Linked DNA regions of Homo sapiens: region 2 is linked to region 1. Evidence: promoter capture Hi-C in 16 types of primary human blood cells and fetal thymus (Javierre and others, 2016). All regions are on one chromosome and are shown on one strand. Each heading gives the region's core, a stretch centred on a gene start or on the middle of the fragment in contact. The rest is flanking DNA. Distances are from core to core; before and after follow the strand shown.

What was found. Contacts are between HindIII fragments. The CHiCAGO score rates a contact against its expected background, and 5 or more counts as called.
Region 2: a fragment that was not itself captured here is called in contact with the fragment with the promoter of MLKL in region 1 in 2 of 17 cell types (total CD4 T cells and naive CD8 T cells); the score reaches 8.1 in total CD4 T cells.

What each region holds. Positions count from the first base shown.
Region 1 is chr16:74,697,695-74,702,961 of GRCh38, reverse strand. MLKL (mixed lineage kinase domain like pseudokinase) reads left to right here and starts at 2,100. Exons shown (of 11, transcript NM_152649.4): 1 at 2,100-2,509. RefSeq lists an enhancer at 2,197-2,646. The HindIII fragment of the contact is 1,546 bases long and covers 1,851-3,396 here.
Region 2 is chr16:70,158,485-70,163,751 of GRCh38, reverse strand. PDPR (pyruvate dehydrogenase phosphatase regulatory subunit) reads right to left here. Exons shown (of 19, transcript NM_017990.5): 19 at 1,215-5,267. LOC400541 (a long non-coding RNA gene) reads left to right here. Exons shown (of 3, transcript NR_126007.1): 2 at 4,863-4,947. Among named protein-coding and RNA genes, the nearest start is that of CLEC18C, 13 kb to the left of the region's middle. The HindIII fragment of the contact is 2,489 bases long and covers 1,023-3,511 here.

The DNA.
Region 1 (5,267 bases), core at 851-3,350:
AATATCTAGAATATTTAAACTCTCAAAACTCAAGTTTTTTAAAAAGAATTCAACTAAAAATGGGCAAAAGACATGGACAGACATTTCACCAATGAGGCTATACAGATGGCAAACAAGCACATGAAAACATGTCCATCATCACCAGGCACTAAAGAAATGCCAATTAAAACCATGATGAGACCAGGCGCAGTGGCTCATGCCTATAATCCCAGCACTTTGGGAGGCCAAGGTGGGTGGATCACCTGAGGTCAGGAGTTCGAGACCAGTCTGGCCAATATGGCGAAACGCTGTCTCTACTAAAAATACAAAAAATAGACAGGTGTGGTGGTGCACGCCTGTAGTCCCAGCTACTTGGGAGGCTGAGGCTGGAGAATCGCTTGAACCCAGGAGGTGGAGGTTGCAGTGAGCTGAGATGGCGCCACTGCACTCCAGCCTGGGCAACAGAGTAAGACTCTATCTCAAAACAAAACAAAACAAAAAACCATGATGATATATCACTATTCACCTGTTAGAATAGCTAAAAATTCAGGCAGGGACAAAATAAAATGCTGCTGAGGATGCAGAGAAACTGAATGTCTTGTACATTGATGGTGGGACAGTAAAAAAAAAAAAAAAGAAAAGAAAAGAAAAAAACTTCCAAAAGGTTATACATTGTATGATTTTGTTTATAGCAGATCAGTATACCCATCCTGCAGCTGCTATGAGTGTTGACAGCTAAACACTCACACAGCTTCCCCCTCGTCCAGAAGAATTGCCCTGGGCAGAAAGGAGGCTGCCTCTTGTTCCAGACCTTCACATTCCAGACCTCCCCATGGAGCCTCCACTGACTACATACTTGTTTCACTTTTTCTTCCTCTGCCCTATCATACCCACCACTCTCCTAAGAGTCTTCCTTCAATAAATCACAGGCACCTGTGTTACTTGTTGAAGGTGTCCAGGTTCTTGGCATCTTGAACAAAGAAATGGGCAAAATGCACAAAGCAAGGAAAGAATGAGGCAACAAAAGCAGAGATGTATTGAAAACAAAGGTACACTCCACAGGGTGGGAGCCAGCGTGAGCATAGGGGCTCAAGAACTCCGTTACAGAATTTTCTGGGATTTAAATACCCTCTAGAGGCTCCCATTGGTTAATTGGTGTACACCCTATGTAAATGAAGAAGATGAAGTGAAGTTGCTCAGTCACTTACTCAGTGAACGCCATATGTAAATGAAGAAAATATTTCCTGTCATAGCTGAAATGTGTCCATTTTATTTAGTTCTAAGAAGTCAGCGTGAATCAGCTTTATGTTCCCTGCCTGCAGACCCTATTCTCCTGCCTCACCTCAATCTCTTCACCTAAGACAGGAAGAAAACTGATGATGCAGGAGACGAAGAACAATAGCAAGGCGAAGAAATGAATCTCCAAGGCCGGCTTCAAGCGATTCTCCCCTCTCAGGCTCCCGAGTAGCTGGGATTACAGGCATGCACCACCACGCCTGGCTAATTTTTGTATTTTTAGTAGAGACAGGGTTTCCCCATGTTGGCCAGGATGGTCTTGAACTCCTGACCTCAGGTGATCTGGCCACCTCCGCCTCCCAAAGTGCTGGAATTACAGGCATGAGCCACCACACCCAGCTCCCAGTTCTGTTCTTTTAGAGGCAAATAGTCTGTTGAGTAAATGCATAACACTACTTAGACTTTCTAGCTGAAGATGTAGTTAATCTTAAGAAAACCTGACTCACACTGTAACAGGATGTTCTGCAATGACCTTAGAAGAGGAAGTGACTTTTTTCCCACTTTGGTGTCTCTTCCCTCGTACCCTCCCCACCCCGCCAATATTATCCAGCACAGAGAAGCAAACACCAGAAGCTTCTCTCCAACTTTCAGTTTTTCTCTAAACTTCCAGTCCTTCTCATACTGTGTCCTGGTTATAATAGTTGCTGGGACCTTATTCTATTCTGAATCCCCAGCCCCTAAAGAAGGCTTGGTACTGACGTGTACAGCGTAGTTACCCAGTGACTTTGGGGAAGGCAGGAAGAGTGTGGAAAGGACAGGAGGAAGGAAGGGAGGGGCCGTGGCTCCGAGCTGCCTAGAAAGCGGCTCCAGGGAGCCAGGGCACCGTGAGCCTGGTGGTTGGCAGCTGGAGCCACGTCGGAGGGGGAAGTGTCGCAGCATTCTCTGCAGGCATCACAGACCTGAGGCAGTGGCCTCCGGAGGGCACTGGACAGAAACAGCCATCCAAGTGGCTGAGTGGAGGGACCCTGCTCAAGTGCAGCTGCAGTGGCCGGGGTTTCCCTCAGGTAGGGATCGGGGCGCCTTGTCGCCGCCAGCCACGTGTGGCGTCCGGTACAGTCAGCAGAGTGCAGGGTGCGGGCACCAGGAAAGGGGGCGCAGGGGAACTCCCGCGGGCCTCGCGTTTGCAAACTTCTCGCCTGGGCAGGAGGCGGTCGTGGGAAAGAAGGTGGAAGAGCGAGCTTTTTGGAACTGTGCACGGGACAGATTGGACGCACACCCCTCGGGAGGCGCGAAGGTGAGCATGGGGTCTTCCCAGGAGGCGGCGGGGCCGAGGGGCTGCAGCCGAATTCCTGGACGGTGATGGGAAGAACCAGGGGTGAGGGTGGCCCGGTCCGAGTTCCTGGAACTCAGGACCGAGTTGGTTTCATTTCCTCAGCTCTGATGGTGGAGCTGCCTGCTCGGATCTCGCACTACCTTCCGCCAAAGCGAGACGCCCAGTAGCAGTGGGGGTCGTGGAGGGCAGGGGCACGGGAACAAGTTACCTGATGTCTTCTCAGAAAAAGGAAGTCTTCAGGTTTGCAGGCTGAAGGCGTGAGAGAGAGACAGAGTGAGAGAGAGAGAAGAGGGAAATGCCTGATAACCTTTACTTATTTTATTTTATTTTTATTTTTTATTTTTTGGAGGGAAGAGGTGAATTTGCATTGTTATTACCATTTAAAGATTTTTCACTTTTAAAATTAGTAACCTGTTTTCTCATCGTAACATATGAACATAATCCCCTTTTTCTTTTTATTTATTTATTTTGAGAGATGGAGTCTTCCTCTGTTGCCCAGGCTGGAGCGCAGTGGCACAATCATAGCTCACTGCAGCCTCCGAACTCATGGGCTCAAGTGATCCTCCAACCAGATCCTCCCAAGTAGCTAGGACTACAAGGTGCACATCACCACACCCAATTAAATTTTTTTTGTATTTTTTGGTAGAGCCAGGGTCTCGCTTTGTCACCCAGGCTGGTCTCAAACTCCTGGGCTCAGGTGATCCTCCTACCTCACCCTCCCAAAGTGCTGGGATTACAGGTGTGAGCCACTGCAGCTGGCCTGAACATATTCTTAGCTGTTTGTTTTACATATTATAAATAGCACTGCAGTGAACATCTCGGTAGCCATCTATCTACAAACACAAGCTTTTCTACATCATAAGTTCCTAGAAATTCAAATTGCCCAGTCTAAGTGTGTATATATGTATATTCCCTTTCTTCCCTTGTAGATCATATACTTAATAAGACCTTAAACAATTTAAGTTATTGTAGGGTGCTTTTTCCCAATATTTTGCAGTTTTTAATATATTTTAATTTCATACAGGCAAGTCCCCTTTTCTTTATTTTTTAAAATCCTGGTTATCCCTACTAATTTCCCATTTCAAATGAACTTTAGGATCATTTTGATTTAATGCCAAAATATGTCAGTAGATGTTTTATTGGAACTGCATTAAATTGGATTTAAATTTGGGAAGGATTGCTGGGTTGGTCTGTTTTAGTCTTCCCAGCCAGAAATATAACACTTCTCTTTCCTCCTTTCTTCAAGCTTTGTTTTGTGCAATTTTCTTTCTTTCTTTTTTTTTGTTTTTGTTTTTGTTTTTGAGACGGAGTTTTGCTCTGTTGCCCAGGTTGGAGCACAGTGGTGTGATCTCGGCTCAGTGCAACCTCCACCTCCCGGGTTCAAGCAATTCTCCTGCCTCAGCCTCCCGAGTAGCTGGGATTACAGGCGCCTGCTACCATGCTTGGCTAATTTTAGTATTTTTAGTAGAGATGGGGTTTCACCATGTTGGCCGGGCGATCTCAAACTCCCGACCTCAGGTGATCCACCTGCCTCGGCCTTCCAAAGCGCTGAGATTACAGGCATGAGCCAATGTGACCGCTGCAATTTTCTTCATACCATGCCACCACTGTATAATTTATTATTTGAAATTGTTTGTCAGTTCTATGGGTGGGATATTTTCCCCATTTTCCTTTCTGATTAGTTCAGTGCTGAGATATGGCTTTCTGATGAGGCTGCTGGTAAGATAACTGGAGCTTAGAGCTAGGAAGCTACAATTTGCAAGATTCCTTGAACAACATTGCCACATTTGCTTCTGTTTCTGGTGCAACAGAGAAAGTGTAAAACCTTTTGCCCTCACAATTCCCAAGAAATGGCCTTGAAGATATCTGCTTAGCACGTGGGAATAGCTGGGTAGTCTGAGATCCACTAGTCTTTTTAGGAGTGCCCTAATAACTGTTACCTCCCTTGCCCAATCACTGTAACTCTCAGGCAACAAAAACACAACTATATCGATTGCTCATTTATTTAGTTTCACTTCTGCCAGTGCCTTACTCATGTTTTAAAGCCATACTTGGGCTCCAGGCCAATTATTTTCTCCAAGCTGCTAATTAATCCATAAACTGGCGATAATACTTAACCTACCTATTTCACTGAGCTGTTAAAAAAAAAAAAACTAACTTTGTTTTTTGTTGTCGTTTGTTAGTGGTGGTGGTGGTGGTGTTTTTGAGACACTGTCTCATTCTGTTGCCCATGCTGGAATGGAGTCAGTGGCACAATCATGGCTCACTGCAGCCTCGACCTCCCAGCCTCAATCAATTCTCCCTCCTCAGGCTCCAGAGTAGCTGGGACTACAGGCAAGCACCACCACATCCAGCAAATTTTTGTATTTTTTTGTAGAGACAGGGTTTCACCATGTTGCCCAGGCTGGTCTCGAACTCAGGCTCATACGATCCCCTGGCCTCAGCCTCACAAAGTGCTGGGATTACAGGTTTGAGTCATGACACCCTACCCTAACTTTATTTTAAATACTTTGAAAACTGGTTCCATGGCCTTGTGATTATTTGAATGCAACCTCCCTGAACCGCAGCATCTTCACTTTTCACCTGTTTGTTTTTTCGAGACAGGGTCTCTCTGTTTCCCTGGCTGGAGTGCAGTGGTGTCATCATAGCTCACTGCAGCCTCAACCTCCCAGGCTCAAGCGATTCTCCCGCCTCAGCCTCCTGAGTAGCTGGGACTACA
Region 2 (5,267 bases), core at 1,018-3,517, 4.5 Mb after region 1:
CTGGGGCAGCGTGGCCTGCCACACCCTGGAGACCCTGGCTGGCCAGGCTAAGGACTGAGAGCTTTGTCTCACGACAAAGGGGAGTCCCTTGAGGGTTTCAAGGCAGTGAGTAAATTGACCTCCCCTGTTTTACAAAGACAACCCTGCAGAGGGAGGGGGGATGACATGAGAAGCAGGAAAATCAGTAAGAGATTGTTCTCGAAGTCAGGGCTGACAACCCTCTCTGCCACAGCAGCAGTGGTGGGGACAGTGAGGTCCGAACAGAGGAGAGGCACTGAGGAGACAGCCCTGTGAGGCTGGGTAATGAGCGGGAGGTGTAGGGAGAGGCGAGTGGGGAGACCAGGTGAGTCCCAGGTTTCTGGCGTGGTTGACTATTCCTGGAACTGGAATAGAAGGGGCTGATTTAGAAGACAAGATGAAGAGATTGTTGTAAACATGTTAACCTATGAGATTCTCAAAAGTACAAATACTTAAAAAAAAAAAAACTACTCAAAAATTACTTTGGGCCAGGCACAGTGGCTCACGCCTGTAATCCCAGCACTTTGGGAGGCCAAGGTGGGTGGATCACTTGAGGTTGGGGGTTTGAGACCAGCCTGGCCAACCTGGCGAAACCCCGTCTCTACGAAAATACAAAAATTAGCTGGGCATGGTGGCGCGTGCCTGTAATCCCAGCTACTCTGGAGGCTAAGGCAGGAAATCACTTGAACCTGGGAGTGGAGGTTGCAGTAAGCCAAGATCACACCACTGTACTCCAGCCTGGGCAAAAGAGCAAGACTCTGCCTCAAAAAAAAAAATTAGTGAACAGGTCAAGTCCAGGGACCAACTTGTGGATGGAAGCTGGTGTAGAAAAAGAGCACTGGTTGTTTCTCTCAGGGTTGTTTCCACAGGGTGAGAACACGACCCCCCTTGCTTTCCACACAAACCTGAGTGCACACGTGCCCGTGTGGAACATCAGGTGGCAGGTTCCTCCTGAGGTCAGCTGTAGGCAGAAGGCCGGTCGGAATTTCAGGAGGCGGGAAGCTTTTACCCCCAGCCACTCCAGCGCTGCAGGGAGGGTAAGATAAACACCTACATCTTCTCTACCCCCGTCCCCAAATCCTCCCTCACACTGGTACACACAGGGAGGTACACACTCTCCTCTGCACGCTGTTTATGCTTTGTGGTGGCAAACACATTTAAGTCACTACAGATGAAGAACATTTCACAAGCAGCCGTGCAAGAGTAGTTAAAATGTGTTTATTCATTTACAAACCCAGTAACATGAGAAGAAACTCAGTGGAAACCTTGCTTGGTGGAGACAGTGCACAGTGTTAGTGCCACATTCACAGGGGCAGAAATGCTCGGTCACCCTGTGCACCCAAAGTCACCCAGGATCTCTAGAAAAGATCCCACTTACTGAAGTGCCTCGGATGTCTTCAGGGCCAGATTGTAACTACACAGGAACAGGGAAGGGCTAAGCTGAACTGCAAATTGACAAACACAAACGATGAGTCACAGGACTCTACAGTAGTTACAATGGCATTTTTATATGTCCCAAGTGTTGACTGGAGAGTAAAGTGTTAACTGAGCTGCTAGAACACCCTTCACTGAAAGAGCTTTCTACCCCACGCCCATTGTTCCGAAGAAGGAGAGGCTATGTGGGGCGGATGGGAACCCACACACCGAGATGAACTTTTCTCTTTCTTCCAATCTGCACCCACCATCTGACATTCTGGAGTGTAAGGCACTAGAACCTGGCTTAGAGAATAGTGGGGCTCTAAGCTCCAGTTCTTGGTGTGCAAAGGAAATTCTGACATACATCTTTTGAAAGAGATGCTAAAAAACCCTCCCTATCTCCTGTAATTTCTGTCTTTGACAGACAGGAAAATAAGAAGGCAGAAGATGGTCTGCAAAGGATAAAAACAGGTGCATCTAAGAATGAGAAAAATGGCTCATGAAGAAATGTGTAACTCTCCAAGAGATGCAGACACTCTGCTCAGAGAAGTCAAGAACCATAAACAACTCTTCATGTTTCATGGACAAAGGGAAGGCAAAGGCATACAAAAATACTCAGTTGTCTTGAAAAGTGTACTGGTAGTGATCAGGGCTACAAAGGCGAGCCCTGTACTGACAATGGAGGAGCCTTACAACTCAGCACCTTAAATTGTTGGCCTGAAGTGGTGGCGGGGAGGGAGGCGCTGACGGAGAGACCCATGGCTCACCACTTATTGCGTGTACACAAGGCCTGGGGCAAGCCTCACAAGTCTACCATTTCTTCCACTCAACTGTGCTTCTCCTGAATCCATGTGCCTGAAATGACATATGCAAGGTGAACATTCTTTATACTGTGTTAATACTGCTTATATCAATGTTCGTGAGGGGTGTGTGGGGGATGGGGTGCAGCAGGAAAATTAGAATGGCAGGAGGTTCTTATTTATTATTAAGCACTGTTGACCAAACCTCTATCTTAGATTTTTTTTTTTTTTTTTTTGAGACAAGAGTCTCACTCTGTTACCCAGGCTGGAGTGCAGTGGTGCAATCTCAGCTCACTGCAACCTCTGCCTCCTGGGTTCAAGCAATTCTCCCACCTCACTGGGCCTCCCAAAGTGCTGGGATTACAGGAGTAAGCGACCACGCCCGGCCAACCAAACCTCTATCTTAGATGTTAAAGAAGACCCTTATTGACTACACTGGCCAAGAAGCAACAGAGATATAAAGCTGAATCTTGTAGCTAACCCCTGAAAGCAAGCCAACGCAAATTCCTCCGCCAGGCCAGTCTTCTAGTGCCAATATGGAGACTGTGGGCCACAGAAGATTCCCTTCTATTTCAGGTTCTCAAAAAGTGGTGTAGACTCAGGCAAATGCCAGGAAATGTGTCCATATGCCAGAGGAGACACAGAGCCAGAAATGAAGGCTATGGGTCCTGTCTTCAGTGAAACACTGAACGCTCTCGGAAAGCTCCCATCATTCTTGCATCGCTACTGCCACCAAGACGGTGGCAAGGGAGGAGGCTAACTTTCAAATGCATGCAACGGCAGGTAATATACTGTGGAAGCTGGAGGTTTACTTTTCATGTTTTAGTTACTTTCTTGCAAACAGCAGTCCAGGAAAGCAAGCAAGCAGGTAAAACTCCGGGTGTGCATGAGGAGATGATCCAAGGCCAGTGGGCCTCCCAGTGAGAACCAAACAGGAGTGGCCAGGCTCCACTCCTGGGGCCAGAGTGAAACCGGGGTTTAATCACTGGGCTATGTGGTCTCTGTGTCTCTGGCCTGAATGAGATCTCTTCAATGTCGGGGGACAGGGATCCCTGGAAGAGCGTGAAAAATACAGTGGTCACTGTGCAGTTCTCTCTGCTGGAGCCTGTCCTGCCATCATACAAGGTGCTGTGACAGCAATGCAAGGTGAAAGGAGATCAAATGGCCCAGCTCAGCAGTTAGTGTTTGTCCCTTTTTGCTCTTCAGAGTTCCTGAATGAGAGCTTTTCTGGCTTCAGTACCAATGATCACAGAAGGAACATCTTCCTGATGCAAGCTTAGATGGAAGTCAATGACCCTGGCAGTGCTAAGAACAGAAGTCACACGTGGCCTGACGATGAAGGGGAGGTAATTAAAGACATTTCAAGGGAGGGGAAGGCCCACGGAAAACTGGCAACCCTGGGTCTCCGTTTGAGGCCAATATACTTTGTGTTCCTAGGTTCAGATGGCATACACCGACAAGAGAAGGCAGAGACCATCCTTCGTGGTGAGCACAAAATGCTATGACAGGTAATTGCAGAGAGAAAAAAGCACCCAACTCTGTAAAGCCAAGTCCAGTCACCCATTCACAAGAGTCCAAAATCCTTCAAATCTCTAGGGACAGAAGACAAACGTGCTGCCCAGAATGAGCTGAGACACAAGGCAAACCCTTGGAAATGACACATGGATGAGGAGGCTGTGGTTGTCCCTCCTTATTCCTGCTGGATTTGCAGCCACGGCTCTGGATCTGGGGCATCTACTGGCCTCCCCTGTTCACTCAAGAGGCCACTGCCTCTCAGGAGTCCAGAATGCTCTGATATCTGACACCGGTGGTCAGGAAGTTATGCTGCCCTCTCCTCTTGAACAGCTAAGATGCTTGGACACTAGACAGAGGCAAAGCAGTTATGCCAGAAGCAGGGGAGAGTCATTCACTGTCAGATCTGTCTGTTCAAAGAGCTCACATTAGACCAATCACAGAAAACCACCAGACTCACACAGCTTGTATTTGAATGAACCAGGAGAGACTTCAAGGATCAACTCTAAAGTGCTAGAAGAGAAATCTGTGTTTGGGGCACTGAATAAACAAGTGATGTCCTAGAAGATCAACACCCCATCAGTCTTAGGAGTATGACCCTATTCATGGACAAGGGGTTTCAATGGACAGCCTGAGTGCTCAGCCCCCCATCCTCCTCTCCTAGCAAGACAAGCAGTCTGTTGCTCAGAGGGGGAAACTGATGTCATTTAACAGGAGGTCAGGATTTCTGGTTCTACTTCAACAAACAGTGCATAATTTTGGACACAGCATCAGATTTCCTGACTTCTTACAAAGGACAGCTAATTAAAAACGTGTCAATCTGTAGTAATTAGTTGGAGATTAACAAGGGCAGAAGAGAATCCAAGTCTTAAAACTCTATGTGGGATACATTTCTGATGAAGCTTCTATTTGACTAATATACTGTGATGATGGCACTATTCGATTTTAAACTATGGAGACAGCTTTTATTATTTCGATTTGGATCCTGGTAAGTGGTGATACTGCTATGTAACAGTTAAAGCACAAATGTATTGCCATAGTTAAGGTTGAAGAGTTATGTCTATGTGTAACTAAATTCTTCTGGATTCAATTACAAATACGTTTTCCTTTACAAAGATGGCTTTGGAGGGGTGCAAATGCTACGTGTTTGGAAGAGCAGAGGAGGCCTGCAGCTCTCAGTCACCTGTCTCCATCTTCGGAGGTAAGTCTGCTCCCTGCTGGTAATGCCTGCATCTGCCCAAGGGCCTGTTCCTCCTCTCCCAAGGCCTTCACAGCTGGTGTTCACTGGTTGGCCCTCCAGCCGGCAACACCTCTCCTCCTCTCTGCCTAGAGGCAGCATCTCTCGGCTAGTTAAGTACATACTTGCTCCAAGACAACTAGACCCCCAAACAGAATTCTAATCATATGCTCCTCTAACAAGCCAACCAGAACCTTCCAAAAAGGTTTAGGCACTAAAGTCAGTAATCACTAGGAGTGGTCTAGTTGGGGAAGTGGCAAGAAATGTCTAGAAGGAGCCAGCGT